Linked DNA regions of Homo sapiens: region 2 is linked to region 1. The links are contacts of gene promoters, found by promoter capture Hi-C in blood cells and fetal thymus (Javierre and others, 2016). All regions are on one chromosome and are shown on one strand. Each heading gives the region's core, a stretch centred on a gene start or on the middle of the fragment in contact. The rest is flanking DNA. Distances are from core to core; before and after follow the strand shown. Region 1 holds the start of GPR88 (G protein-coupled receptor 88). Region 2 holds the start of SLC35A3 (solute carrier family 35 member A3).

What was found. The method cuts DNA at HindIII sites, captures the fragments that hold promoters and counts their contacts. A CHiCAGO score of 5 or more calls a contact.
Region 2: a contact is called between the fragment with the promoter of SLC35A3 here and the fragment with the promoter of GPR88 in region 1, in 1 of 17 cell types (activated CD4 T cells). The highest score is 5.1, in activated CD4 T cells.

The regions. Positions count from the first base shown.
Region 1 is chr1:100,536,797-100,539,496 of GRCh38, forward strand. GPR88 (G protein-coupled receptor 88) reads left to right here and starts at 1,343. Exons shown (of 2, transcript NM_022049.3): 1 at 1,343-1,706; 2 at 2,098-2,700. The coding sequence starts at 2,171. RefSeq lists enhancers at 1,767-2,616, 2,065-2,464, 2,617-2,700. The HindIII fragment of the contact is 8,214 bases long and covers 1-2,700 here.
Region 2 is chr1:99,968,687-99,971,386 of GRCh38, forward strand. SLC35A3 (solute carrier family 35 member A3) reads left to right here and starts at 1,310. Exons shown (of 8, transcript NM_012243.3): 1 at 1,310-1,476. The region is part of intron 1 of LOC124904230 (a long non-coding RNA gene); the gene reads right to left. RefSeq lists enhancers at 790-839, 900-949, 1,670-1,759 and a silencer at 1,350-1,549. The HindIII fragment of the contact is 6,900 bases long and covers 1-2,700 here.

The sequences.
Region 1 (2,700 bases), core at 93-2,592:
TATTCCCATATTGAGTTACATTTTCAAATACATGACTTTTCCAGTGAATAATTGAGAGAACTCCTTTTCTGAAAAAATTCCCACATGGAATGGATAAATGAACACTTGCACCAAAGAAGATGCCAACATCAGACTGCAAATCTCCAAGACAGACAAGACAAAAAGTTCTGAAGTGAAAAGTCATCTTTGTTCACACTGTGGATTATTCAGGTTTCTTGCTTTCCCCCTGACACACATTTTTTTAAAATTGACTTTATTTTTTTAGAGCAATTTTAGATTCATGGCAAATTTGAGTGAAAGATACAGAGATTTCCCATGTACTCCCTGCCCCTCGCATACATAGCCTCTCCCATTATCAAAATCCCCCACCAGAGTGGTTCGTCTGTTACAATTGAATGTACGTTGACACATCATTCCCCAAAGTCCATGGCTTACACTGATGTTTCACATTCTGCCACTTTGGGCAAATTTATAAGTACACAGATCCACTATTATGGTATCATACAGAGTAGTTCCACTGTCCTAAGAATCTTCCGTGATCATCTATTCATTCCTCCTTTCCCCCTAACTCGGGCAACCACTGGTCTTTTTAACTGTCTCCATAGTTTTGCCTTCTCAAGAATGTCATAGTTGGTAGCATACAGTATGTAGTCCTTTCCAGTTGGCTTCTGTCACTTAGTGATACACACTTAAGGTTCCTTCATGTCTTTTCATGGCTGGACAGCTCATTTCTTTTTAGCACTGAATAATATTCCATTGTCTAGATGTACCACTGACATCTGCTTTAAATCTTTTGCCCATTTCATTTTTACCCTCTAACCATTTCATTACTAAAACACAAAACAAACTCCGGAAAGGAGTTTGTTGATGAGAAAACACTGAAAGTACGATTTAAATTGAGGAATGGAGATTTTCTGTGGATAATTGTCTATGTTCCACTTTACCAAAGAAAAATGAATTTCAAGTAGTGCATAAAGTAATTCTCGTTAAAAAATGTGGGAATAAAGAGATCAGTCCTGGGTACTGGGAATATATTTATCTCACAGAAAAATCTTGCCCACAAAATGCATCAGACTGAGATGAAATACTCTAGGGTATATTAAATTTTATTCTAATATTGAAGGGAGGGAAAAAAAGGACGGAAAGAAAAATGAAACAGGATGAAAAATAAGGTGATTGGGAGAGAGAAAAGACAGAGAAACTTGTTAACGACAGGACTTTCTGAGCAAGATATTTTTCTTCCTTTTACAAGTTGGAAGCTATTGAATAATTCATGCCAAGCGTGGAAAGGCTGTCTTTTCCCTGGATGATGTATAACTAAGCAGGAGAGAGCTTCGAGTGGGTTCACCACATCAGCCACCACTCCTGCTTCTGAGCACAGGGTGCTCTCCTCTTGAGCTCAGCTTCTGCTTTTGCAGCCAAGCATTCTTGCTGCTGCTGCCTGCCTGCCCACCCGCCTGGGCTTGCAGCCCGCCACTTTACTTTCTCCAGCCCTGATACCAGCTGAGAAGTCTCCCTGCAGCTGCTAGTTCCTGCCCAGGACCATGTGTGTGGATGCTGCTTGGGAGAAGCGGGCACTTGCTCCTGGCACTGATCCCAGCTGAGTTTCTCCTGTTGATTTCTGGACCACTGATGCTGTTGCTGAGGAGGTATTTCCCGGCATCCCTCCCCCTGAGACACCGGCTAAGGACCAGCCTAAACGCAAGGTAACCTTCACCTCTTTCCCATGGGATTTTCCCCAGCTGGGATATCTCTGCTTTCTCCTGGAACTAGGTCCTCCAGCTGGCAACATATCTCTCTCTCTCTCTCTCTCTCTCTCTCTCTCTCTCTCTCTGTGTGTGTGTGTGTGTGTTGGGGGAGAAGAGGAGACTGTTTTAGGTATTGCTCTGTCCTAGGGCTTCCCCGATACCTGCTGAATCCAATGCAAAGTGGCCTTTCCCCTGGCTCTGGAGACATTTCCGAGGCAGGCACCTGTCATCTGCCACCCCCGTCCTCCTCCTCGAGCTCCCTTTCTCCCCCTCCCCCAGCCCATTATTCTGCTTCAGCCTTTTGTGTCAGTGGCAGAGGGCTGAAGGGATGTCTTTGCCCTTCTGGCAGGCAGGACAGTGTCAGGATGGACCGCGCTGCCAGAAGCCGACGCTAGCGAGGGAGGTGTGAAGAGTTGGCCAGAATGACCAACTCCTCCTCCACATCCACCTCCTCCACCACCGGTGGCTCGCTGCTGCTGCTCTGCGAGGAAGAGGAGTCGTGGGCGGGCCGGCGCATCCCGGTGTCACTCCTGTATTCGGGCCTGGCCATCGGGGGCACGCTGGCCAACGGCATGGTCATCTATCTCGTGTCGTCCTTCCGAAAGCTGCAGACCACCAGCAACGCCTTCATCGTGAACGGCTGCGCCGCCGACCTCAGCGTCTGCGCCCTCTGGATGCCGCAGGAGGCGGTGCTCGGGCTCCTGCCCACCGGCTCTGCGGAGCCCCCCGCAGACTGGGACGGCGCTGGGGGCAGCTACCGCCTGCTACGGGGTGGGCTGCTGGGCCTCGGACTCACGGTGTCCCTCCTCTCCCACTGCCTCGTGGCCCTGAACCGCTACCTGCTCATCACCCGGGCGCCCGCCACCTACCAGGCGCTGTACCAGAGGCGCCACACGGCGGGCATGCTGGCGCTGTCCTGGGCGCTCGCCCTGGGCCTCGTGCTGCTGCTCCC
Region 2 (2,700 bases), core at 60-2,559, 570 kb before region 1:
CATATCAGCACCCCAAAACAATTACCATAGTAACATCAAAGATCATTGATCACAAAGCACTATACCAGATATAATAATGATGAACAAATTTAAATATTGCAAAAATTATTGAATATTATGTGACACAGAGACACAAAGTGAGCACATGCTGTTGGAAAAATGGCACCAATAGATGTGCTTGAGGCAAGGTTGCCACAAACCTTCAATTTGTAAAAAAAAAAAACAAAAAAACAAAAGCAATGTCTGTGAAGAGCAATAAAGCAAATCACAATAAAACGAGGCATGCTGTTATCATCATCTAACAGGCACATTTTGGTTTCAAAAAAAACTGGGCATGTATTAAGATCTAATATGTATTTTACCATCCAGGAATTTTCTCAAGACTGTATTGCAGAAAATTTTAAAACCAGTTATTCTACTCTAATACAGTTACTTATTTTTCTTCAATATCACTTTTTTTCTAAGTATGTCTCTCTTGGACATGGTTTTAATCATTTGCAATATAAAGAGACATAGGCTTAATTTATAGCAGCCCTGAGTTAACAAAAAGAGATAATCCTATTCGCTTATTTGATAATCCAGCTGAACCTGAAGTACTGATTTCAGCCTGTTCATCACCTGAATGGGCTGCCGTGGTTAGAGGGTTTCCAACACAGCTACTGGAACACTTTTAAAAGGTAATGCTGTGATCCATGCAGCCAGGAAGGGGTTGGTCCCTCATAACTCTGCAATCCTCTGGGCCCAGTTTTCTTTTTCCTCTCCCGGTTGATGACACTAGGCCCATTGGTGGTACGGCTTTGGGTTTCCTTCAGTCTCAAGATCTCAGTCAGGGTGGGTGAAGTGGAAGAACAAGCCTTCTTGCAGACCACTGGTTGGTTGGCAGCCTTTGCCATAGCTAATCTGGTTGTTTTCAGGTCAGTGACAGTCACTTTTAGGAGAGGGTTCGTTTGCTTTCAAAATCCATCTCCCCGTTCCTCTCAGGGTTCTTTGCCCCAAAGGACTTTGCCCTTCCTTACGCAGTGGACACCTTGGCACCCTCTGCAAACAGACAGTCCCGCAGAGGCCCTCGACGAGTGTCACTCCATCTGTTTCGCGCTCCTAGGAGAGGTGTAGCAGAAAGCAGTGCCCCAGGCCTCCACGCGACGGTGAAGCAGGAACCAGGGGCTGCCAGCAGAGCAGCCCAGGTGCGTCGCCTTAGGGACAGAGCTGCCAAGTGCCGAGCTGGGGCTGCCAGAGCCGAGCCGGGAACGGCATTTGCCAGAGCCGAGGCGGAAGCCGGAGCATTTGGGGGACGGGACCGCGGGAACCCGGAAACGCCTGGGCTGCACCGAGCTGGCGGTGGCTACGGCGACGGGAGCCGGCGGCGCTGCGGGTCAGCGGTCGCGTAGGACCCAGCGGACTCGGCAGCCTGGGGCGCCCGGCGGAGCTGAACCGCGGCCCCCGGTGGTGGGCTCAGCCGGTCGAGCTGCGCGGGAGGTGAGTCCTCAGCGCACCTGGGGAGGGGCGGGAACCAGGAGGCTAGCGGCTGCGGGGCGGCCCGGGAAGCTCCTGGAGGAGGAGGAAGAGGAGGCATGCGAGGGGGCTGATGTGAAGTCTGTAGGGGTGAAGGGGACGGTATCGAAGACCTGAAATACAGTGCTAGCTAAGTAGGGGTGGGAGCAGATGAGGTGACACGTTGTAACTCCGACGGACGACGTGCGGAATGTACTGGGTGGAGGAGGAAAAAAGGCCCGAGGAGAGGGGTGTGTCAAGCGAATGAAGACGGCAGTGTGTGCCTCAGCGCCTGGTGCGTGCGGAGCTAGTGACGGGTGGGCCCGGCTGGGGCCCGTCATTCCTTCAGTGAACATCCCATGAGCTCTCGCTCGGTGTTGAGCCCTGTGGTAGGCACAGATGCACCCGACCAGCACCTGGAGCTCAAGAAGCCGCAGGAACTTAAAGAAATGGAAAGGCTGCCCTTGGTAAGGCTAGTAAGAACACAAGGACTGTTTGAAGTGGGGTGAGATTCTCATCAGAACAGGTGTGTGGGTGCATTGCTTTATAGTAAAAGACGATCTTTTATTATGTTCTCTTAAATGCAGTATTTGAAAATTAAGTCTTTTCGTTTTTGAAATCAACATTCGACTTTAGTAGTTAAAGATGAAATTTGGTGCAGTTTCTTACTTGGTGTTCTTATTCACTTTCACTGGTAAACTCAGGGTGTTTCAAGGGAATGACTTGTAAACTTATATTTCTGAGGCTAACTTTCCTCCCAACTGTTGATTCTATCTCTTCAGCATCTCAAATTTAGTTCTCCCCTTTTTCATTCCCACTACCTGTCTGCTAAATATGCTCGTCTTTCCTCTTCTTACTTGCACTATAGCAATAACTTCCAAACTGGACTTGTCCTCAGCCTGGCACCCTTCCAGTCACTTGCCTCCATATTACTTTTAAAGCCAAAGATCTTATGACTTTCTTTTTTTGGTTATTCCTTCCTCAGAAATACGCAGTGACTCTCGATCGGCTTCAGAATAAAATGTAAATTATTTAGGGAGGCATTTAATAAATTTTATATTATTTAGGGAGGCTTCAGATTTTTCCTTCAGAATTTGAGTCTGACGGTGGCTCCAGTAAAATCAATATGATTCTTTTTTTTTTTTTTTAGACGGAGTCTCGCTCTGTCGCCCAGGCTGGAGTGCAGTGGCGCAATCTCAGCTCACTGCA